5 separate regions of the Homo sapiens genome follow, and regions 2, 3, 4 and 5 are each linked to region 1. The links are contacts of gene promoters, found by promoter capture Hi-C in blood cells and fetal thymus (Javierre and others, 2016). All regions are on one chromosome and are shown on one strand. The core of a region is centred on a gene start or on the middle of the fragment in contact, and the rest is flanking DNA. Distances in the headings are between cores, read along the strand shown.

The links. Contacts are between HindIII fragments. The CHiCAGO score rates a contact against its expected background, and 5 or more counts as called.
Region 2: a fragment that was not itself captured here is called in contact with the fragment with the promoter of SLC9C1 in region 1 in 16 of 17 cell types (naive B cells, megakaryocytes, naive CD4 T cells and 13 more); the score reaches 21.7 in naive B cells.
Region 3: a fragment that was not itself captured here is called in contact with the fragment with the promoter of SLC9C1 in region 1 in 5 of 17 cell types (naive B cells, naive CD8 T cells, total B cells and 2 more); the score reaches 7.6 in naive B cells.
Region 4: a fragment that was not itself captured here is called in contact with the fragment with the promoter of SLC9C1 in region 1 in 2 of 17 cell types (naive B cells and M2 macrophages); the score reaches 6.6 in naive B cells.
Region 5: a contact is called between a fragment that was not itself captured here and the fragment with the promoter of SLC9C1 in region 1, in 1 of 17 cell types (naive B cells). The highest score is 6.0, in naive B cells.

What each region holds. Positions count from the first base shown.
Region 1 is chr3:112,291,268-112,296,807 of GRCh38, reverse strand. It overlaps SLC9C1 (solute carrier family 9 member C1), which reads left to right and starts at 2,592. Exons shown (of 29, transcript NM_183061.3): 1 at 2,592-2,715. The HindIII fragment of the contact is 3,564 bases long and covers 1,729-5,292 here.
Region 2 is chr3:112,531,500-112,537,039 of GRCh38, reverse strand. It overlaps ATG3 (autophagy related 3), which reads left to right. Exons shown (of 12, transcript NM_022488.5): 10 at 438-565; 11 at 2,703-2,771; 12 at 4,260-4,530. The coding sequence ends at 4,341. Among named protein-coding and RNA genes, the nearest start is that of ATG3, 28 kb to the left of the region's middle. The HindIII fragment of the contact is 6,531 bases long and covers 1-5,540 here.
Region 3 is chr3:112,492,754-112,498,293 of GRCh38, reverse strand. All of the region lies in intron 1 of BTLA (B and T lymphocyte associated), which reads left to right. Among named protein-coding and RNA genes, the nearest start is that of BTLA, 3.9 kb to the left of the region's middle. RefSeq lists an enhancer at 239-358. The HindIII fragment of the contact is 6,214 bases long and covers 1-5,540 here.
Region 4 is chr3:112,128,801-112,132,000 of GRCh38, reverse strand. GCSAM (germinal center associated signaling and motility) reads left to right here. Exons shown (of 6, transcript NM_152785.5): 2 at 1,488-1,556. It also overlaps a transcript of C3orf52 not described here. Among named protein-coding and RNA genes, the nearest start is that of GCSAM, 2.8 kb to the left of the region's middle. The HindIII fragment of the contact is 3,561 bases long and covers 170-3,200 here.
Region 5 is chr3:112,145,134-112,150,673 of GRCh38, reverse strand. The region is part of intron 28 of SLC9C1 (solute carrier family 9 member C1); the gene reads left to right. Among named protein-coding and RNA genes, the nearest start is that of TBILA, 14 kb to the right of the region's middle. The HindIII fragment of the contact is 678 bases long and covers 2,457-3,134 here.

The DNA.
Region 1 (5,540 bases), core at 1,343-3,842:
GCAAAAATAAAATTAAAAACCCAGTTCCATTGTGATTGCAAGGAAAAAAAAAAAGAATTAAATGACCAGGAATAAGTTTAACAAGAGAGGTGCAAGGCAGTCCATTTGCTGATTTTTTTTTTTTTTTAGAATTTGTTGTTGTATTTTTTGCATCTGTAATTTTCATTTGGCTTCCCTTTATATCACCTATTTTTTTCCCTGGAACTTTACTTCTTTGCCCAGACTTTCTATTTTTTCATCTATTTCAATACTGTTCATAATTATTAGCATTTGCTGAAATATTTTTATGATGGCTATGTTAAAATCCTTTTTAGATAATTCTAACATTTTTGTAATCTTAGGGTTGGTGTCTTTTATTGTCCATTCTCATTCAAGTTGGGATCACCTTGGTTCTTGGTATGATGAGCGATTTTCAATTTCTATTTGGACATTGCAGATATTATAAGATACTGGATCTTATTTAAATCCTGGGTTTTACCAGGCATCCTCTGACACTGTTCTGGCAGGAGAAGTGGGGTCACCTCTTGTAGGCAAGTTGGAATAAAAGCTCAAGTTCTCTACTCAGTCTTCATTGACACACAGCCGAAGAAGGGGTGTCTTCTTACTGCTTAGGTAGGAGTGGGGCTTCAGGCTCTTCACTAGGTCTCTGATGATAGCCCCCTGGATGGGAAAGAGAAGGGTGTCCTATTACTGCTCCCTGCATGGTCTCCACTGATACCATGGGAGGTGGCTTATGCCTATAATCCCAGGACTTTGGGAGGCTGAGGAGAGGATGGCTTGAGGCCAGGAGTTTGAGACCAGCCTGGGCAACATAGCAAGACTCCATCTCTACAAAAAGAATTAAAAAATTAGGTGTGGTGACATGCCTGTAGAAGTATTCACCCAAATACTTGGGAGGTTCAGGTGTGAGGACTGCTTGAGCCCAGAAGTTTAAGGTAGCAGGGAGCTATGGTCATACCACTACCTTCCAGCCTGAGTGACAGAGTGAGATCCCATCTCTTGGAAAAAAAAGGTGAATGATTCTGGATTACAAGGATGTCCAGTGTGTGGTCATTAGAGTATATTGCTAAAGAGAAATATTAGACAACATTTACATTTCCTGTTTTATTTATATATATATATATATATATATATATATAAACTTAGCAAGACATATGTATATAAACAAATACATAATGTGGCAAATATTAGCTTTGCAACTTAATTAATTTTTAAATATATATCCACACATGAACCACAACCCACACACAGATATGTGGCATGTATTTCCAACAATGAGAATCCTTTTTTTTTTTTTTTGAAACGGTGTCTCACCCTGTCTCCCAGGCTGGAGTGCAGTGGCGCAATCTCGGCTCACTGCAACCTCCATCTCCCGGGTTCAAGTGATTCTCCTTTCTTAGCCTCCCGGAGCTAGGACTATAGGCGCCTGCCACCATGCCCGGCTAATTTTTGTATTTTTAGTAGAGACGGGGTTTCACCTTGTTGGTCAGGCTGGTCTCGAACTCCTGACCTCAGGTGATCCACCTGCCTCGGCCTCCCAAAGTGCTGGGATTACAGGCATGAGCCACTGCACCTGGCCGAGAATAGATTTTTTAAAGACCCAAGAAAAGGGGCAGCCCAGCAAGACAGAAAATTTCACCAGTAACTGCTCTACTTTAACCAAACACCACAGAAAAGTGTTCACCCACTCCCTGTACCCACATACCAGCAAAGACTGAGTAGGAAGCTTAAACTTCACCCATACCATACAAGATGCCAGAACCCTGCCTGTTTCCCCACCCCAACCAGAGCAGTATCAGAAAAGGCCTTGTGGGAGCTGGAACTTCCATAACAACCAGGCCATAAAGATGCACCCCATGCCTCAGTTGGAGACCATGTAGGGAGCCTGGACTTCTGCTCCAACCCAGCCAAACAAGTTGCCTCCTGCCTTCTTCATCAGGGTAGTATCAGAGGAGGCCAAATGAAGAGTTGGGAATTTTACCACCATTCACTTATAAACGTGTGGGTCGGGAGAAAGAGATGAAACACAGAGAACAAAACATTAAATACAATTTTAAATAACTTTAAGATATTTTATGAGAGTAGGAATGTGAAAAGTTGGCTCTATAGTAATAACTAAGTAATTTCAATTAAAATATTTTTTACATATTATGTTTAGAAAAAACAAATGAGTATATCATTATTCCTGAAAATTTCCTCACATATAACCCAGAGTGAAAGTTCACCTTGTCATCTTGATTTCATTCTCTTACATGCCCACAATATCCATTCACTTTTTCCCTAACCCAGCAACCTGCGTCCTCATATCTCTACCACACTATCTTATCCAGGAAACTTCCTTTTACTAGAATTCTGGGAAAGCAGTGTCCAACAGCTCTTTGTCAGAAATCCACTGTCCCAAAGTCTTAAATTAACACAATGGCGCAATTTCTGTAGGTTCATTTTCACCCCTTATTTGTTTATTTTTAAAAAATAAAACAAAGCCTTAAGCCGTCAAATGCCTGAGATATACAGGAGCAATGACGTTGCATTTCATCAGCCAATCAAGTAAGAGATGATGGGCCTGAAGCTAACCGGTGCAGACTAGGGGCGAGTTTGGAGCAAGTAACTGTCAGTGAGGTTGCAGTTGGTCTGGGCTGTTTGGCTGTGAGCGAAATAGCTGCCCCCCACTTCTCACTTGCACACCACGGGATACTCCTCCTGAGGCTCCGGATGGTGAGCTCTCCAGTCTCTAGTTTCCTTTTCTGGAAGTTGACCTTTCCTACTGGTACTTTCTCTCTCAGTCTCGCCTCCTAGATGAACAAAGGCTCCCACTGTTTTCCTGCTAGAGATTCAGCCACTCCCTCTTGGCGCTTCTGCCTTTCTTGTGGCAGACCATGGAACACTTTCCCAAAGATCAGCTAGCTTCTCGGTTTGAACTTCTACCCCTTAGCTGCTTCCCCTCCTCCATTATGCTTTTTACATCAACTCTTTGTGAACTATCCAGTGGCATGTGTTCCCTTTGCGTTACTGAAACTGAAAAGTCCAGCCCTAGGGGAAAGCTCACTGGTTCAGGGAATCGCCTCAGGTGTGTGGAGCTGATCTTGAGCTGGAGGAAGGGCTCATTCTGAGTGGAGGGGCATTAGGAGGGCAATAGCCCACCCACCTTCAGAGTCAGTAAGATGTCTGCGTTGTGTGGTAGGAGAGTTTACTAAGGAGACAATCCAGCCTCTGGTATCAATATAAAATAAACCATTAAGCATGAGCTTTGTAGCTGTGAAGATTACTGAGATCCCACAGTGCCCTCTTCAGGATGCTTTCTTCACCTAATTCTTGCAAAACGTTCCAATCTGAAGGAAGAAGACTGTTTCCATGTTCAGTAACATGGTAAATTAGTGTGACTTACGGTTCATGAGACAAAATTTCTCAATGCTGGCTGACTGACAAGGACAAATTCATGTCATTTTTGAGAGGGCAGTCATTAATTTCCTCCACACACAAAGAGAATTGAGATATTAGCTAACATGAGAGATATATATATATATATATATTTGAAATAGAGTCTCACTCTGTCACCCAAGCTGGAGTGCAGTGGCACAATCTAGGCTCACTGCAATCTCTGCCTCTTCAATTGATTCTCCTGTCTCAGCCTCCCAAGTAGTTGGGATTACAGGCATGTGCCACCACACCTGGCTAATTTTTTTTTTTTTTTTTTTGTATTTTTAGTAGAGACAGTTTCACTATTTTGGCCAGGCTAGTCTCGAACTCCTGATCTCAAGTGATCCACCCGCCTAGGCCTCCCAAAGTGCTGGGATTACAGGCGTGAGCCACTGTGCTCAGTCAACTAACTTATTGTTAAATTAATGCAGAGGACCTATGTGATAAACCAATATTTTTTTCTTTAATGGGATTTGGACTCACAGACTTTTACAAAGCTGTCAAAAGTCAGCTTAAGATGAAGAGTTCTAATTATATTGAAAACCTGTGGCCGGGCGTGGTGGCTCACGCCTGTAATCCCAGCACTTTGGGAGGCCGAGGCGGGCAGATCACAAGGTCAGGAGATCGAGACCATCCTGGCTAACACAGTGAAACCCCGTCTCTACTAAAAATACAAAAAATTAGCCGGGCGTGGTGGCTGGCGCCTGTAGTCCCAGCTACTCGGGAGGCTGAGGCAGGAGAATGGTGTGAACCCGGGAGGCAGAGCTTGCAGTGAGCCGAGATCGCACCACTGCACTCCAGCCTGGGCGACAGATCATGACTCCGTCTCAAAAAACAAAAAAAAGAAAACCTGTTTATTCTCATAGCTATTTCCTTACCCATACATTTAACATATTAAGCTACAGTAATGTTAGTATTTTTAAAACTATTTTAAGATGACATCTATTCTCAAATAGAGATTTCTTATGAGATTTTGGAGTAGAGGTTGGGGAAGCCAAATGGTATTTATCACATATGCATAGCCAGAGAGATAAATTGTGTTGAATTTGATCATATATATCTCTGAATTTAAGAGTAAACAGGATTCGTGGTAATTTTATTATTATTAATGTGATTATAATTTAACTTTCATGTTCTGGGATACATGTGCAGGTTTGTTATATGGGTAAATTCATGTCATGGAGATTTGTTGTACAAATTATTTAATCACCCAGCTATTAAGCCTGGCACCCATTAGTTATTTTTCCTGATCCTCTCTCTCCTCCCACCATCTACCCTCAAGTAGGCCCCAGTGTATTCCCCTCTATGTGTCCACGTGTTCTGAATATTTAGCTTCCACTTATAAGTGAGAACATGCAGTATTTGGTTTTCTGTTCCTGCATTAGTTTGCTAAGAATAGTGGCTTCCAGCTCCATCCATGTTCCTACAAAGGACATGATCTCATTCTTTTTTATGGCTGCATAGTATTTCATGGTGTATATGTGCCACATTTAGTTTATCTAGTCTACCATTGATGGGCATTTGGGTTGATTCTATGACTTTGCTTTTGTGAACAGTACTGCAATGAATGTACGCATGCATATGTCTTTATGATAGAACAGTTTACATTTCTTTGTGTTTATACCCCGTAATGGGATTGCTGGGTCAAATGTTAGATCTGTTTTTAGGTCTTTGAGGAATCACCACACTGTTTTCCACAGTGGTTGAACTAATTTACATTCCCACCAACAGTGTATAAGCATTCCTTTTTCTCCACAACCTTGTCAGCATCTGTTATTTTTTGACTTTTTAATAGGAGCCATTTTGACTGGTGTGAAATGGTACCTTCCTTGTGGTTTTGATTTGCATTTCTCTAATGATCAGTGATGTTAAGCTTTTTTTTTCATATGCTTGTTGGCAGCATGTATGTCTTCTTTTTAGAAGTGTCTTGTCCTTTGCCTACTTTTTAATGGGGCTGGTTGTTTTTTCTTGTAGATTATTTTAAGTTCCTTATAGATGCTGGATATTAGACCTTTGTCAGAAGCATAGTTTGCAAAAATTTTCTCCCATTCTGTAGGTTATCTGTTTACTTTGTTGATAGTTTCTTTTGCGTGCAGTAGCTCTTTAGTTTAATTAGATCCCAT
Region 2 (5,540 bases), core at 1,199-3,698, 240 kb before region 1:
GCAAGTGATGTGAGATGGAGAACTAAATATATTATAAACCTTGAGATTTAGGCTGAAAGTTTCTAAATAGTAATTTCTTTTTTTTTTTTTTTTTTTTTTTTTTTTTTTTTTTTTTTTTTGAGATGGAGTCTCGCTCTGTCGCCCAGGCTGGAGTGCAGTGGCGCAATCTCAGCTCATTGCAAGCTCTGCCTCCCGGGTTTACGCCATTCTCCTGCCTCAGCCTCCTGAGTAGCTGGGACCACAGGCGCCCACCACCCTGCCCGGCTAATTTTTTATATTCTTAGTAGAGACGGTGTTTCACCATGTTAGCCAGGATGGTCTCGATCTCCTGACCATGTGATCCGCCCACCTCAGTCTCCCACAGTGCTGGGATTACAGGCGTGAGCCACTGCACCCGGCCTTAAATAGTAATTTCAAAGCATTTTTTATGCTTTCAGCAACGGCAGCCTTTAACAGTTGAGCACATGTATGAAGACATCAGTCAGGATCATGTGAAGAAAACAGTGACCATTGAAAATCACCCTCATCTGCCACCACCTCCCATGTGTTCAGTTCACCCATGCAGGTCTGTATATGTAGAGATAAATATATTTTTTGATGTGATTGTATATTTCATGGATTTATTACTTGAGAATCTTTAAACATAGAACCCTAACAGAAAAAAATTTTCTTACTAAAAAGTAAAATTCTCTCTTGTCCTCCTTAGAAATTTTCTTGTGCTTAAATATATAAGAAAAAGGAAAAAAAACTTACCAATTTGTTTTAAGTTTAATATGTTAAGAATTTTTTTGTTCTCTGTGGGTGTTTATAGAATAGATGGATCTTTGTGATTTTACTACACTTTTTAGCTTCCAGAACAGTTTGGAAGATTCTGTTTTTGACTCAGAAATAGTCATTTAGATATGGTTTGCTGTGTTGTGACTGCCTTTCTGTGAATGTAGACTGTGGAGTTAACCTTGTGATTTTTCTAGGTGACCTATTTGCTTTCTTTTATTGATTAGTGAAGGGAGATATATGGATGTATGTTCTTCAGTTGAGAGCTTGTCAGCCTTAGCAAGTCAAGTGCATTTTATAAGTTGGGATTTTCTTTGTATCAGTGTTTTTTCACAGAGCCAAATCTGTGAAGCTGAACCTATATACATGATTAGTTCAGAATTTTTCTTAAAAAACAGTTACTACATGCCAATTTCTTTAGGTTGGTTATTTCTAATAGATAACTTTCCCAGTTGACTGGAAAATACTGGTAACATACTAGTAACAATATTTTTCAGTGAAACTCATATTCTGTTGACTAGTTAGATGAAACATTTTGTTTTCTCTTCCCTCTAGTTAAAAACAACCTTTAATATTTTCTTCTCATATTCTGCAACCTCTTTACTCTCAAACTTTAACTCCGTGGAAGACCTTGCTCATTTTTTCAGTTTTATTATGTCTGAAACTTTGCTAACTATGAAAAATAATTTAGGAGCCATTAGTTTTAGTTTTGAATTATGTAATCTAAAAAGTTTTCAGTTTTTAGAGTTATTCTCTTGATTCCTCTTATGGTTTAAGGTCTTAGGATGGTGCTTATCAAACTGAAGCGTATCTCTCTGAGGTATAAACTTTACTCAGTTGGGGGAAAAATAACTGGTAATTATGTTAAACATTTTAATAAAATAGATGACTGTATTGTGGAATGGGATATAAGTATTTCAAAAAATCTGAGTGCCTATAAAATAAAACTTCAAGGACATTTTAGACCATTCCATGGGCTGCCTCAGATTGTGCCTTCAAATCCTCTGGAATCATACATTTACTCTCATATTCTAAGTTGACTGTCTCTGTCATGAAGATTATAGTCGTAAAAACTGAAGCAGCATTATTTAAGCCAAGGTATGTTAAAAAGACTGTTTCTTTAAAAATTATCTTTTTCTTGGTTTCTGTGCCTAGATACTAACTTTGATATCACTCTTTTCTATAGTACAGGAGAGAGAACAGTTAGCCATGAAAAGATGTATAGATAGGACAAAAACTTCATATAAATAAATACCTTTCTTCTTATAAGCCAAAAAATTTATTTTTACATAGAATTGGATAAATTTTAGAATACCTATTAGGACAAAGAAACAAATACAAACCTCTCAACTCTAACCAATTAGCTTTTCTTAAACCCTCTCAGTTTTGGCTTATTCTCAGCTAAATAAACAGCCCAGATCACAAGATTATAGATACCTCTTTGCTTTTTTGTCCAACTGATACCATGTGTCTTTTTTTTTTTTTTTTTAATTTGCCTGATATGACTCTTGTTTCTTAGAGCAAACAGCTATCATTCCACATTTTCTCCTGGAATGATTTCCTCATCTCTGGTTTTCTGCCTTCCTTGTCTCTCCCAATTATCAGAACACTAACTAATGCCATGGTGTCTGCTGTGACTACCATAGCTTTTTAAGATTATGCCCTCCCCTGGTAAAACTGTTGGCATGGCATAACAATCTGTTATCTTTTGTGTTTCGGAAGTGGAGGGGAGATATTTTATAATTTAACTATTTTAATAAATATTTTATAGTTATTGGGGAGTGGTGGGGGAGATAGTTTATAATATAACTATTAAAAATTAATTCACTGAGAGTAATAGGGTCGATTTCTTTACAAATGAAAATATGTTTTTCTTCTTTCGGTCTAATCGATCTACATTAACAATTTTTTTTTTTTTTGGCTTCTAGGCATGCTGAGGTGATGAAGAAAATCATTGAGACTGTTGCAGAAGGAGGGGGAGAACTTGGAGTTCATATGTATCCTTCCCTGTATGTAAGATTAGTGGCAAAATGGCTGTTAACGATTTTTTTTTTGAGAAATTTAGTGTAACCTTAATGATACAGTAGCTATAACTTGTTTTAACTTCTCATCTGAAAATCCTAGTAGAAGTCTTTCATTTATTTAGAAAATGTTATATTGTGATAGTTATGCCTTGCTTAGTTGATTAGAACATGTCCCCATGTGTAGCAGTAGCTCACCCTTGTTACAGAGGTAACTACTAATTTAGAATAATAATATGAGTATCTTTTTCTTATGTACATTTCCAGTTTAACATGTTACCAAAAATGTACTTTCCCATCAGGTAAAAGTAAAATTAGGTTGTGTCAATCTGAGGTGTCTCTGAAGCAAATAATTCAGCTTAAACAAATACGTTAATTAAAAGTAATGTACTACGTGAAGTGCTTTAGATATTCTTAAAATATAGTACGTTCATTTTTCTCAAGACAGTAGCACCTTTCTTGTATCTTACTATAGTTTTCCTACTCAGTTTTCTTGGATTGACAAAAGTAATACATTCAAGTTAATGCCCAAGCAAACTGTTGGATCCTAAAGTACATGTACTCATAGCATAGATTTATCAAAAACAGTCAAAATCAATGATTTACATGCCAGATAGCTTGAATTAGTTTGATGCTAGGTTAATACTTGACTTGGTGGTGGTTTCGGCTACTATGTGTTAGATTAGATGTGGAGACTAAGATGCCACGTCTAATCAGACTGTGGGGCATTGCTAATAAAGTGTGTCCCTAAGAAGAACTTTGAACTGATTTGATATTGAAACAAACCAAAAACTTCCAGTCCAAACCATATTTACTCCTGAAGTCCTATTATGCCTAACTGGCACATCTCTGCTGGATGCTAGGTAGCAACTTGGAAGACTGTCTATATATAATTCATAATAGTAATTGGTTTCCCCCAATGAAAAGTAAGCTCCTAATGTTTTTAAGTGCAATGAACATAAAAAAATTTCAGAATTTAATTAAAGACAGTCCAGTAGAGCTCAGTCTTTGGCAAATACATACACTAACCTAGAATCAGTCTACTATACAGGATTTTTATTTAATTTTTTTCTCTTTTGCTATAGTACTTCATTATAGTCTATTCTGCCTCATTTTCTGACATAACTCTAGCAAACTTAAAGGAGTCTAGTAAATGAGTACATTTTGTACTCATTTAAACATGTATAGCTTTGTCCTTTTTATGTCAAAGTAATTGTGCTTATATGAACACCTACTCATTAAGAAGTTTCAAATTCAATAATCGAATGAGTGGTCAGGTAGTCTTAAAGAGCCTCATGTTAAATAGACACAAATTTGCATAGTTGAATTCTTTAATAGACTTAATTTAAGATTTTGTGGGGTTTTTTTGAGAAATTAATGGCTTAATAAAATGGATAATTACAACATGGGCTTAAAACATAGAACTATTTACAAATCTTATTTTCCTTAGCTAAAAACCTTTAGGTATCTTCTTATTTTCTTGAAATTTGTACAAGCTGTCATTCCAACAATAGAATATGACTACACAAGACACTTCACAATGTAATGAAGAGAGCATAAAATCTATCCTAATTATTGGTTCTGATTTTTAAAGAATTAACCCATAGATGTGACCATTGACCATATTCATCAATATATACAGTTTCTCTAATAAGGGACTTATATGTTTATGCATTAAATAAAAATATGTTCCACTACCAGCCTTACTTGTTTAATAAAAATCAGTGCAAAGAGAGTTTTTCTTGTGTCTTATTAAAAGGTTATGATTTGATTTCCCCTAAGTAACAATAAGTGAAGACATCTGTCTTATATAGAATGATGACAGATTATTTTTGGTTTACATTTATGAGGAAGGTATTAAGTGTGTAATAGTCTCAAAACTAGGATTAGAAAATACTGTGTGCTAGTTTTCTCTCACCTTTTCCTGTTCTGCTAATAGTTAATATTTATGAAGCGCTTACTGTGTGCCATGAACTCTTTAAGTACTATTGTTTCCTAATTGTAGTGTTAAGTTGATATTGATATCACCAAAATTATTTTTTATTAAGGATTCGGGAATATTTATTGTGGTTGCCTGGTAGAATACTAGAATTTAAAGGGATAATAAGTTTATTCTGTCATGTCAGTTTATAGATCTTGGTATAGGAGTTTAGAAAGGCAAGTTTTCTGCTCTAGGATGCATACTGCAAGCCAAGGAGGAAAACCTAAGCCCTTTATTCCCTTTATACCACTACATGCTTCATCTTTGTTCTTTCAGTAGTCTGCACAAAGTGGAATGGCTAATCTTGTCCATAGTTTTGTTTTATTTTCTCCTCATCATTTAAGAATACCCTCCTTGCTTTCTTTATTTTCCTCCCTTTTCCAATCAATTATTGTATTGCAAGAAAATCTCCATAATGAAGATAATGATTTGGAGGTATTGTGTGTTTGATATGGTATAATATGGAGATAATAAACATGGACATCATCCTCTAATATACTTGAAAATATTCTGCTTGCTCATGTAGCCAGAAAGCTGCTCCCCTTTCTTAAATTGATGTTTTAAACCGATTTTACTGGAATGTTTTATTTTTGAGTATCTTTAAGTTACATGATCTCAAATATTAAATGTTATCACATTGTCAGCATTTTTCTCCCAGTTGTTTTATTTGTCAAAAGTATAGGCATCTTCAGTCCCTCAATTCATTTGTTGTTAAGTGGTCATATTTATCTCAGTCACCACTAGGTGGCATAAATAATTTTTTG
Region 3 (5,540 bases), core at 1,683-4,182, 200 kb before region 1:
CTGGGATTACAGGCACCTTCCACCACGCACAGCTAATTTTTGTATTTTTAGTAGAGATGTTGGATAACCCCAATTATCCAACATCTGTCCTACCCAACTGAGCACTGCAACACTCTACTGCACTCAGTTTGGGAAGAACGAGCTATCTATTCATCATCAGTGTGGCAGCCTGAGCATTTTCGCAAGAAGTAGTGATAGATTTGTACTTAACTATTTATAACATCTACTCAGTTCTCTTTTCTTGCCATCAACCTGTTTTTTAAGAAAGTCAGCCAAGCTATGGATGCAATGCATGTTGGGCAGGCTGGTCTGGAGCTCCTGACCTCAAGTGATCCACCTGCCTCAGCCTCCCAAAGTGCTAGGATTACAGGTATGAGCCACCATGCCCAGTGATTTTTCAGGTTTTAAATATTCTGTCTTATTATTCCCTACAAGCACACATTTATCAGTTTGGCTACTGCAATTTTAAATTAGAAAATCTGGCCACTGAGGTTCTATGGAAAGTCTATCTATAATTTTAAACTGTGTAGTTTGGAATATGTCTCTATGATGCCAGGATGCCACACAACCAAGTGCAAAGTAAAAAAGTCCTTAGTTACTCAAACATCTTTATGTTTGTAAGTATCTAGTATTAAGTCAACTAGGTGCTTAGATGGTTGACTGAATTTTCCACCTTCCATCAGATGCCTACAGTCACATAGCTACAACTGGAGTCAAATATTATTAAATAGATTTCTTCCCCATTTGAAGGATACATAAACTACTCTCTATGAAATTAAGAACAATGAGTTTCAGTGCTAAACCACATTGATGGTGGGGTAAGACCTTTATTTCTCCCAATGTGCAACCTAGCATTTGCAAAAGTGAACTTGGCTGTTAGAACTGGGTTAATTTACTGGCTCTGCCACTTACTGTATGGCATTGATTAAGTCTCTTCTCTTCTCTTTAGTTTCCTCATTTGTACAATACAGGTAATAATTGTACCTAAATTATGGGGCTGCTGTGAAGACTGTAGATGCAATAATATGGGTAAAGTGCCTCGCATAGTAAGTGCACGTATTTAAAGCTCAGTAAATGTTAGTGGTATTTTTCCTAAATTATTTTCACCATGCAACCTCTATGTAATTAAATGAGAATTATGTTTTAACATTATTATTTAAAATAGTTGAGTTTTTAAAGTTAAAAATAAAATAAATAAGTACAATATATTTTGCAATATATTTAGCCCAAAATATAGTGAATCAAATTATTCAGAAAATGAAATATGGCTGGGAGCCATGGCCCTAGCCTTTAGTCTCAGCACTTTGGGAAGCCAAGACGGGCAGATCACCTGAGGTCAGGAGTTTAAGACCAGACTGGTCAACATGGTGAAACCCCGTCTCTACTAAAAATATAAAAATTTGCTGGGTGTGTTGGGAGGTGCCTGTAGTCCCAGCTACTCGGGAGGCCGAGACAGGAGAATAGCTTGAACCCAGGAGGCAGAGGTTGCAGTGAGCTGAGATCACACCACTGCACTCAAAAAAAAAAGGGAAAGACTTGAGTGAAGTACTGGTCAGATATATACCAGTTGATATAATGGATTGCAGCAGCAGTTGCATTAAATTAAAGCTATAGGTTAAGAGAAGGAACATTTGGTGAAATTTGTTCTCCCAGGCAGAGCTGATGGCTCCATTTCTTAAAACCACATTAAATACCTTATATCTTGGGGATTTCCTGTGATTTACTTAATTGCTGAGTTCTTTACAGTAATACATTTTCAGTGTTTAAAGATAGCCTTTGAAGATTTTTTCCCCCTACTTCAAAGCAATGTGAGATCCGTGTCCTTGTTCCTAGGAGTGAGGCTGCATATATAATAAGGCTGGAAAAAATGTAATGTTCTCTACAAACTTCCTGTTTAAGGTCCTTCTTTATTACAAAAGTATGCTTGCTTACTTTTTGTGTTTCTCTAAAAAATTAGAGAAACTTGCCCCTCAGTGTGTGGCATACAGTTTCTGTCCTGATAGAAGTAATAAAAATGTCAATATCTTCCCTTCATGGGCAGATCATGCTGGCAAGATCTAGACTGCAAGTGGAAGTGTCTCTGTCCATTGCCTGCCCTGTCATCCTGGACCATTTGTCTGAGGCTGCCCTAGACCCTAGTTCAGTTGAGGATCAACCAAGGATTCCACTTTTAGGCAGGCAGGAACACTGCAGTTAATGTCTGGGTATCACCAACACCATATATGATGCAGAATAAAGGCAGTTGGAACTGTTTGATTGATTACTGGTTATTGTGATTTTTAAAAAAAGCAATCCTAGTCTGGTTCAGTAAGGGAAAGACACCTGTATTCTGGCTCTTTTGAGAATACAGTGGTTAGGGCTATGTCTCCATTTTGGTCTGGCTTGTGTCATTTTTTTCCCTTTATTATGATGGTCCAGTATGGTCCATGGACCAGCTTTTAAACACCGTGTTCCACATCCCACACAGATTGTTTTGCTCTACTACAAACTGGCCATATCTTTGGGTCAAAAAATATCATTCCTTGAAGTTCAGGTTTTGTAGCACAGTATCTTTATAAGGCATATTTCTATGGCTTCAGCTATTTGTTCTTATTGAAATGTGCATATGGAGGAATGCTAGAGATAGAGCTCTGTCTTCTGCCAAGTGCCTATGTATTGTTACAACAATGCCTGCCATATATTAAATAAATGTTTAGGAATGCATTCTGTGGTTACAGGACTTCTTGAATTAAAGCATGAAAAGATTAACCTTGTGCTCATTGCAGCCTTGAATATACTTTTCCTATCACAGAGAAGTTTTTAAATTTCTTGCTTCCTCTGTCCTACTACCAAAGTTTCCTCTATTGTAAAGTTGACGTCAAAACTATTTATCTTGCCTCATTGGGACTTTCCTACTTAATTTCCATTATTTGTGAGTTTCATCTTTATGTAGAGTTCAGAATTGTTAAAAGAAAAATATTTACAGGCATTTGTAATCAGGTCCAAAAAATAATCATTTTCTTTTTTCCTTGGAGAAGCTGTGTGGTATAGTGGCTAAGATCAGGGACTCTAAAGCCAGACTCCATGGATTAGTATCCTATGTCTGCCATTTAATGGTTTTGTGACTATAAAATCTCTGGTTCTCAGTTTTCTCATCTAAAAAAATGGGAGAATAATCTTATAAGGTTGTTGTGACTATTAAGTGAATTAATTCTGTAAAACACTTAGAATAGTGCATGGCATGCCATTCAGTGCTGTGTATATTTAGCTAATTTTTTTTCTTTTAGTCCAACATTTCATTAGTTTAATAGTCCTGTTAAAGTAACATTGGGTGACAATTGGGAATCAACCACAAATAAAAATTTGGAGTTCACAAAAGTCTTCTATAAATTACTCTTGATATTATTATCTACTCTTTTTTTTCTTTATTTCTTCTAAAAAAGGAAAACAGGATACATGTGCAGAAATGTACAGGTTTGTTACATAGGTATACGTGTGCCATGATGGTTTGCTTAACCTATTGACCCATCCTCTAAGTTCCCTCTCCTCTCCCCCTACTCCCCAACAGGCTCTGGTTTGTGTTATTCCCCTCTCTGTGTCCATATATTCTCATTTTCAACTTCCACTTATGAGTGAGAACATGCAGTGTTTGGTTTTCTGTTCCTGTGTTAGTTTGCTTAGGATGATGGCTTCCAGCTTCATCCATGTCCCTGCAAAGGGCATGATCTCATTCTTTTTTATGGCTGCATAGTATTCCACGGTGTATATGTACCATATTTTCTTTTTCCAGTCTATCATTGATGGGCATTTGGGTTGGTTCCGTGTCTTTGCTATTGTAAATAGTGCTGCAATAAACATACGTGTGCATGTGTCTTTATAGTAGAATGATTTATATTCCTTTGAGTATATACCCAGTAACGGGATTGCTGGGTCAAATGGTATTTCTGGTTCTAGATCGAGGAATTGCCATACTGTCTTCCACAATGGTTGAACTAATTTACACTCCCACCAACCGTGTAAAAGCATTCCTAATTCTCCACAGACTTGCCAGCACCTATTGTTTCCTGACTTTTTAATAATCACCATTCTGACTGGCGTGAGATGTTATCTCCTTGTGGTTTTGATTTACATTTCTCTGACCATCAGTGATGTTGAGCTTTTATTCTTATGTTTGTTGGTGGCATAAATGTCTTCTTTTTTTTTTTGAGATAGAGTGTCGCTCTGTCGCCCAGGCTGGAGTGCAGTGGCGCAATCTCCGCTCACTGCAAGCTCTGCCTCCCGGGCTCATGCCATTCTCCTAACTCAGCCTCCCGAGTAGCTGGGACTACAGGCGGCTGCCACCACGCCTGGCTAATTTTTTGTATTTTTAGTACAGAAGGTTTCACCGTGTTAGTCAGGATGGTCTTGATCTCCTGACCTCATGATCCACCTGTCTCGGCCTCCCAAAGTGCTGGGATTACAGGCGTGAGCCACCGCGCCCAGCCAGTGTCTTCTTTTGAGAAGTGTCTGTTTAGGCTGGGTGTAGTGGCTCTCGCCTGTAATCCCAGCACTTCAGGAAGCTGAGGAGGGCGGGTCATTTGAGGTCAGGAGTTCAAGAGCAGTCTGGCCAGCATAGTGAAACCCTGTCTGTACTAAAAATACAAAAATTAGCTGGGCGTGGTGGGACACGCCTGTAAGACCAGCTACTTGGGAGGCTGAGGCAGAATTGCTTGAACCCAGGAGACTGAAGTTGCAGTGAGCCAGGTTGCACCACTGCACTCCAGCTGGGTAACAGAGTGAGACTCTGTCTCCAAAAAAAAACAGAGAGAACTGTGTGTTCATATCCTTTGCCCACTTTTTGATGCGGTTGTTTGTTTTTTTCTTGTAAACTTATTTAAGTTTCTTGTAAATTCTGGATATTAGGCCTTTTTCAGATGGGTAGATTGCAAAAATTTTCTCCCATTCTGTAGGTTGCCTTTTTGCTCTGATGAGAGTTTCTTTTGCTGTGCAGAAGTTCTTCAGTTTGTTGCAATTGCTTTTGGCATTTATGTCATGAAGACTTTGTGAGAAAAATGCCAAAAGCATTATCTACTCTTATCCTTGGTCACCAAGAAAAGCTAATAGTGCTTGAGAATCATGCGCTTGAGTTGTATTGTGTCAGTGAATTGTATCATATGCGATTTGCTTCACTTTTCTAATACTCTCCATTCTCTTACCTCAAAATAAGCTCAATATTTTGTACCTTTCTGGTATACTCTCATGGTTATGGACCTGATTTACATGTTTATCTCAATGGAAGAAGTGGCTTGTGTGCAGCATGTGTCTGTGTGTATGCATGCAGAGGTGTCATACAATTTGAGATTCACTTAGAACAGAGTCCAGAAGAGTGTTAGATCAGTCCCAGGAAAACATCAAGTTTAGCTGGCAGAGCTCTTTAATTTCTTTTTTCTGCCTTCTTGATAACCATGTTCATCTTATAAGCACAACCTGGAACTCACACACATCACAAATGGCCTATTATCCAGTATTTGGCTACAAGGGAGGCTGGGGCATTGAGATTTTTATCTGGGGGGTTATGGCCC
Region 4 (3,200 bases), core at 701-3,200, 160 kb after region 1:
CGTGCACTGAATAAGTGCAAAAAAACTTTAAAAAAATTTTTTTACTTTAAAATTTTGTTTTATGTAAGAAAAAAAACCTTTTTCCAAGGTGCACACATCTTATGCTATTTGGACTTCTTATGGTTTTTTATTTATTTTAAAGAAAATTCGATTTTAAATCTAGAAAGCTTTTTGGTTTCTGCCATTGCATTCATGCTTAAAATTCTTTGCTCTTCCTAAGATAAGACAAATCAACTCACATAAGTTTTGATTTTGTTATTTTACATTTGGCAACATATATTCAATATATGGTGTCAGATGTAAATTTTTTTCCAAATAGTTGATCAGTTTGCCCAACATCTTTATTTCTATGATGATTTAAAAGGTCTCCCTTGAACCAAGTGCAGTGGCATGCACCTGTAGTCCCAGCTACTCAGGAGGCTGAGGCAGGAGGATTGCTTGAGCCCAGGAGTTTGAGGGCAGCCTGAACAACATAGCAAGACCCAGTCTTAAAAATAAATTCATTAAAATAATTAAATAAAATGTTTCCGTTAACGTATTCAAAAGTCTTGTATATATTGGTATCTAATTTTCATTGTCACCCCAACACCCAGTTATCATCTAGTCAGCATACCCCCCCAACCGTGTCTCTCCAGATCAAATAAGCTAAGAAGTCAGGGAAATTTTGCACAGAATAGAATGGCACTCATCCCTTCATGAGAGGAGCTCAGTCTCAGAGGAAGAGACCTGCCAGCAGCAAACCCAGCTTTTCCCCCTTAGTGGCTGTGGATCCTCAGACCAGTTGCCTAGCATTTTGGGCCTCAGTTTCCTCATTAGTATAAAAAATATAATGATAATATCTATCTTATGGATTTATTCTGGGATTAAATGAAATATAACACACAAAATGATTGGCATATAGTAAGTAGTGTTTAAGTGTTAGTTTCTTTATCCTCATACTCCCAATTCCCAACAAGTGGGAAGATGGGTATACAGAAATCTAACCCAAACAATGAACCAATTTATTTTCTTTATTCAATCCTTTTCTTCTCCTTCTGTCCCTTGTTCTGGGCCTCCATGCTTTCTGTGAAAGATGGTGTGATTTACACAAGACAAAGCCAGTACCTTTCCCCATTACTTGTGCATAGCTCCTGGAACTGCACCAAAGAGATGGTAGCTGAGGACCTCAGGCCTCTCTCTGGACACGGATACTCTCAAGGGTCATGACGAGGATCCCTGGATATTTGGGATCAGATGATTTAGGATCACTTGTTCATGGAGGTTGGAGAACATCAGTGGGCTGTTGCTGTGGCAATGGAGAGCATGTCAGATCAAAGGTAGCTTGCGACATGTGCTTGAGGAAACAGTATTAACATGTGTGAGGGCAACCAGTCAATTTCTGAGTTACACACAAATAGCAGAAATGAGGAAAGTCGGAAAAATTATGAAAAGAAGTGACAGGCCTGTTTAGGAAATACTTAGCCTGTTTCTGATATGTTGAGTTTCAGGCGGCAGCAGAACACTCAAGAGATGCCTTGGAATGTGAGAATGCAAAGCCCCAAACAGAGAACATCCAGGTGAGAGCAAAATCAACCAAACACCCCCCAGACCTTGCCCAAGGAGAACGAAGTATGTCAAGCCCTGGACTTCACATCCCAGTGAGAGAGGGCCCTGTTTAGACCAGTAGCAGTTGCAATAGTAACAAATGTGAAGACAGGACAAAAGATAAAATGCTTGAAAACTTTGGACAGGAGATATGCTACTTTGCTAGAAGCCTAATGTAACTCCTAGCAACAGGAACTAAGACCCTGCTAGTCCCTGTTATGCCCTGTTATAAAATAAAAGGTCTTATTTCCTGTTGTCATTTTGTTTGTCTATCTCAGGTACCTTTGTGCTCAACCTCCACCCTAGCCATTTTATTTTAAGCTATAGGTGTCTATTTCTGAAGTGACCACATGCCCCATGTTACGACAATTTTTAGAAAGTTTGTGGAGACACCATTGTGATTGCCCTGATGTTGTTAAACAAAGACCACCTCATTAATTCTTTTTGAACAGACCTTTCAAATGTCCAGCCCTAAAGAATTCTCTCTAAGGAAAGGAATAATTAAAATATGGAACTAATGTTCCAGGATCCAAGAATCCTAAGGGCTGACAAGGTCAGTTTTTCTGTGGCCTGTAAAGTTATCTGTGCTTTTCACATGGTTTCAGGAGGAGATTTTGAAAGAGGAGCAATTAAAAAACAAGCACTGTTGTTATTTTCTAACACCAATGCCCGCGTTAGGGGCTGGAGACCCAGAGATTCCTTTCAACAGGGTGAATTTTTTCAGTTCAAGTTGAGAATTACATATTTTCAGGGGTATCATTGGGCATATTTTAAGGCATACAGTTCAAATGATGAAATAAATCAGAAGGGCCACGGCATTATAACAAGGGAGAGGTTGGGTAGACCAGAGAGCCAGAGAAGGCATTGTGAAAGAGACAGATACCTCAAATTCCTGACACGTAGCCTAAGGGTATAGAGATTTGTCTAGCTTGCTTCTTGGAGGCTATCTGAACCCATCCCAAACCAAAACCACCATGTTGAAATGCAAGAATAAACTGCAGAAAAGTCAAGTAGGAGAAACAGCCAGCTTACAGATCGTTTTTGCCCATATTTAACCTCAGCTTATTCTTATAACTCCATGTGTAAGCAGTATATACATCCTCTTTTATAGATTTAAAAACTGTGGCCTCAGGAGTTCAGAGAATATCTCTCAAAATCATCCCCCTCCTCTTATCTCATTCATTTCTCCTCAGTGAATCTGGTTTGTTAACTTGGTGTGATTCAGTAGTTTTCTTACGATGTTTCCTTAGCAACAAAGCAGATAATGTAAGCAAACGGTCTGAAGCACATTGAAGGTAACCTAAAGAAGAGGAAGAGCTGCAGCTGTGCCTCTGGGCCCCAAAGGCTTTGATGATGCATAGATCTTAGAGGTTGTCAGAATGCTCAGCCAAGCAGGTGATCACAGCCAAGGTCACGATGCAGTCAGCCTCTCCTCCACTGCTCCTCCTGATGAAACTTCATGGGAAAGCTCACGGGGGGAGATATTTTTGGATGGTGTTTTCCAAACATTTTTACATACTGTAACTGATACTACTTTATAAAGGGCTTTCACATTCAACCATGTAGGTAGTTGACTATGCCTCAAATTCAGAAAAATGTACAGAATGATACTTATA
Region 5 (5,540 bases), core at 1,546-4,045, 150 kb after region 1:
TAAAATACCCTATAAAAAAGTATTTGCAAGATGAATTTAATGGCGGATTAGAGGCTTTCAATGTGCCTCAGCCACTTTGAAGTAGCAAGATAGTGCATAAAAATTATCTCCGTGAGCTACAATTCAAGAAGGAAGATGGGAATCCCACTGGAATCATGAGGGACACCCCAGATCCCAGAGAGAAGAACAGTGGCAAACAGCACTCCCATGACAGTATCTACCTCATAAAAGTGAGTGAAGCCCCAGTATATGAGAGAAGTAGAGAGCTTCCCTTTGTGACTCATCTTTCTACTGGAGAGCCATGCAACCCAGGCCAAGAGAGACCACTTTGTTTCTCCCCTAGCCCTCGAGTTAACTTAGGAGAAAGGCACTGGAGAAAGCTGTAGACATTTTCCCAGACCTGGGATGAGAGCAGGATGCCATTTTTAATCCGGTCACATAAAAAGTCAGTCATTTTTGGGTGACTCAGCAGCATGGCTATACAGGCATTTTAGTCTCAGGCCAGAGATTGAACACCCTGTTCTGGAGCAGGGTAGGAGCCTTCACTGCCAGAATTGTGGGAAGTGCCTCAACAGTAGGTGCTAGAATTGTGCTTTTTCCCATTGCAAGTCTGGGGTAGGAGGAAAACTGCTACAGCTGTAATTTCTTCTGGGTAGTGAGACTTGCAGCCAGGGCCAGCTTGGCAACCACAAACTTATCTGTATGTGCCATTGCTGAGTGCCTTACCCTGCTCCCCTGAGATTGTGGTGCAGTGGGGCCCTTTCTGCTCAACCTCCAGGTAGAAATGCAGGTATGTGGAGCACTCATTCACCCTGTTCAGCACCCTAAGCCATCCCACCCTTCCTGGACACAGATCATGGTGCAGTGGGGCTCCCTCTGCTCCCCACCCAGGCAGATCTCAGGTGTTCAGAGCACCCATTTGCCTTGTTCAGCAGCTTGAGCCATGCAACCCTTTCTGGACATAGATCATGGTACAGTGGGGCTCTCTGTTCCACACCCAGGCAGACCTCCAGGCATTTGGAATACCCATTCACCTGGTTCAGCAGCCTAAGCTATGCCATCCTCCCTAGACATAGATTGTGGTGCAGCAGGGCTCTCTCTGCTCCAAGCCCAGGGAGATCTCCAGACATTTGGGGCACCCATTTGCCTGGTTCAAGAGCCTGAGCCACCCCATCCTTTCTGCACATAGATCATGGTATAGCAGGGCTCTCTCTACTCCACACTTAGGCAGATCTCCAGGCATTTGGATTACTCACTCACTGGATCAGCAGCCTGACCCACCCCATCCTTTCTGTGCAGAGATCCTGGTGTGTGGGAACTCTCTCTCTGCTTCATGCCCAGGCAGATCACCGGCATTCAGAGTACCCACTGACCTGTTTCAACAGCCTGAGCCACCCCACCCTTCCAGAATCATGAAGCAGTGGGACTCTCTGCTCCATGACCAGGCAGATCTCCAGGCATTCAGACTATGCACTCACTGGATCAGCAGCCTGACCCAACTGCTCCCCCCACTTCCTGTGCAGAGATTTTGGTACAGGGGGACCTTCTCTGCTCCACGCTCACACAGATCTCCAAGCATTCAGAGCACCTGCTTCCTTGGGCCAGCAGCCTGAGTCACCCTACCCCTCCTGTGCAGAGATCTTGGTGCAGGGGGGCCATCTCTGCTCCACACACAAGCAGATCTCAGGCATCTGAAGCACCCACTCTTCTAGATTAGGAGCTTAGGCTGCCCCCATCCCTGTGCAGAGAACTCAGAGCCAAGGTTTCCCAACTCCATGCCCAGGCACACCAGTGAGTACCTGGTGGACACTCACTGGATTCTCTATTGGCACTGGTGCTTGTGCCTGCTATCAAGAGACCTGCAGACAGACCTGCCCAGTCAAGACACACCCTTTTTGGCTCCTACTCCCCATCCCCTCAAGGCTGAGCAGGGAGCTCAGACCACTGTGCATATTAGGAATTAGCCCATTGCCTAAAACAATAGTTTCTGCCAGTAAACACGGGTCAAGTATATACCTAAACACATTGGCTACAGCCAGCTCTTACTGTAAGTACCATCTACAGGCTTGTACGATGAACTGCACAGCCCAATATAAAACCTGCCAAAAGTTTTATTAAGACATAGAGCTACAGTAGCAAAGCCAAAACAGCATTCTCTATGGTCATACCCCCTAGGGAGTGGGGGAAAAGGGAAGGGAAAAAATAAAATATAAACAAATAATAATATTATTAAAGGGAAAAAGGAAAATTCTACTCACATGAAAAGAATTACAAAAATTAGAAGTGCCAGTGTCTCCAGATGAGAAGGAACCCATGCAAGAATTCTGGCACCATGAAAAATCTAAATGTAGTAACACCACTAAAGGATTTCACTAGCTCTCCAGCAATGGTCCCTAACCAAAATGTAAACTCAGAGATACAGATAAGGAAGTCAAAGCATGGATTATAAGGAAGCTTAATGAGATCCAAGATGAAGCTGGAAATCAACACAAAGAAACCTTAAAACAATCCAGGAAATGAAAGAAGAGATAAACACCTTAAAAAGAAATCAATCAGGGCTTCTGGAATTGGAAAACTCACCTAAAAAAATTGAAAATACAATTGAAAATGTTATCAATAGACTAAACCAAAGAGAAAAATGAATTTCAGAGCTTGAAGACCACTCTTTTGAACTAACCCTGTCTGCCTGAAATAAAGTTTAAAAGAATTTTAAAAATGAGCAAAGTCTTTGAGAAATATGGGATTATATAAAGAAATCAAACTTATGAATTATTGGCATTCCCTAGAGAAGGAGAAAAGTCAAACAACCTATAGAATATATTTCAGGAAATAATTCAAGAAAACTTCTTTAATCTTGCTAGAGATGTAGACATCCAGATACAAAAACCTAGAGACAATATACAAAATGAACGTCCCCAACACATATAGTCACCAGACTGTCCAGGGTCAGTGCCAAAGAAAAAATTTTAAAGTCAGCGAAATAGGGTAGATAACATACAATGGGAACTCCATGAGGCTAACAGCAGATTTCTCACCAGAAACCTTACAAGCCAGGAGAGACTGGGGATCTATATTCATCTTTCTGAAAGAAAGAAAATTCCAACCAAGAATTTCATATCCTGCCAAACTAAGCTTTATAAGCAAAGGAAAATTAACTTTCCAGACAAGAAAGTGCTAAGGGAATTCATTACCATGAGACCATCCTTACAAGAGACTGTTAAGAGAGTTCTAAACAAGGAAAGAAAAGAATGGCAACTGCTACCACAAAAACTCACCCATGTACATACCTTGCAGGCCATATAAAACAAAAACACAACAGAAACTGCACAATACACAGCTAACAACTTCACAATAGGATCAAAATTACATATCAATATGAATCTTGAATGTAAATGGTGTAAACACCCCCACGTAAAAGGCATAGAGGGGCAAGTTGAATTTAAAAAACAAGACCTATCCTTCAAGAAACGCATCTCACACATAATGACACCAATGAGCTCAAAGTAAAGGGCTGGAGAAAGATCTACCATGCAAATGGAAAACAAAAAAGAGCAGGGGTCACTATTTTTATATCAGATAAAACAGACTTTAAATAGGAAACAGTAAAAAAGACAAAGAAATGCATTATGTAATGATAAAGGGTTCAATGTAAAAAGAAGACTTAATCATCCTAAATTTATATGCACCCAATATTGGAGCACCTAGGTTCATAAAACACATACTTCTAGGTGTATGAAAAGGCTTAGATAGTCATACAATACTAGTGAGGGACTTTAACTCCCCACTGATAGTATTAGACAGATTGAGACAGAAAAGTAACAAAGAAATTCTGGACTTTAACTCAACACTTGGACCTAATAGACATCTACAGAATACGCCACCCATCAACCACAATGTATATTATTCTCATCCGCACACAAAAAATATTCCAAGATTGACCACATGCTCAGCCATAAAGCAAGTCTCAATCAATTCAAAAGAATCAAAATCATACCAACCATATTCTTGGACAACAGTGGAATAAAAATAGAAATGAATACCAAGAAGATCTCTCAAAACCACACAATTACATGGAAATTAAACAATTGACTTCTGAATGATGTTTGAGTAAACAATTAAATCAAGGCAAAAATCAAAAACAACTTTGAAATAAATGAAAGAGACACAACATACCAAAGTCTCTGGGATACAGCAAAACCAGTGTTAAGCATAAAGTTTATAACACTAAATGCCTACCTCAAAAGTTAGAAAGATCTCAAATTAACAATCTAATTTCACCCCTTAGGAACTAGAAAAACAAGAACAAATGAGCTACAAAGCTAGCAGAAGAAAAGAAATAACTAAAATCAGAAAAGAACTGAACAAAATTAAGACATAAAAGTCCACACAAAGAATCAATGGAAATAAAGTTGGTTTTTTGAAAGGATAAACAACATCAGTAGATCACTAGCTAGATTAAAAAAAAAAAGAAAGCTCCAAATACACACAATCAGAAATGACAAAGGTGACGTTATAACCAATCCCACAGAAATACAAAAGATCCTTGGAGACTGTTATGAACACCTCTACATACACAAACTAGAAAATGTAGAAGAAATGGTGTATCAGTCCGTTTTTCTGCTGCTGATAAAGACATACTTGAGACTGGGCAATTTACATAAGAAAGAGGTTTACTGGATTTACAGTTCCACGTGGCTGCGGAGGCCTCACAATCGTGGCAGAAGGTGAAAGACACATCTCATATAGTGGCAGACAAGAGAAGACAGCTTGGGCAGGGAAACTCCCCCTTATATAATCATCAGATCTCGTGAGACTTATTCACTATCATGAGAACAACACAGGAAAGACTTGCCCCCACGATTCATTTATCTGCCTTCGGGTCTCTCCCACAACATGTGGGAATTTAAGATGAGATTTGGGTGGAAACACAGCCAAACCATATCAAATAGGTAAATTTCTGGGACCACACAATCTCCCAAGATTGAATCAGGAAGAAATTGAAAAACTGAACAGACCAATATCAGGTTCCAAAATTGAATCCATAAAAAAGAACCTACCAACCAAAAAAAAAAAAAAAAAAAAAAGCCAAGGGCAGGTGGATTCACAGCCAAATTCTACCAGATATACAAAGAAGAGCTAGTACTAATTCTACTGAAACTATTTCAAAAAATCAATGAGAAGGAACTCCTCACTAACTCATTCTACAAAGCCAGCATCACCCTGATATCAAAACCTGGCAAAACACAATGAAAAAAGACAACTACAGGCCAATATTCCCAATCAACATAGATGTGAAAATCCTCAACAAAATTTTAGCAAATTAAATCCAGCAGCACATCAGAAAGTTAATATACCACGATCAAGTAGGCTTTATTTCTGGGATGCAAGACTGGTTCAACATCCAGCAAATCAATAACTGTGGTTCACCACATAAACAGAATCAAAAACAAAACCATATGATCATCTCCATAGACATAGAGAAAGCTTTTGATAAGATCCAACATCCCTTCATGATAAAAAGCCTCAACAGACTAGGCACT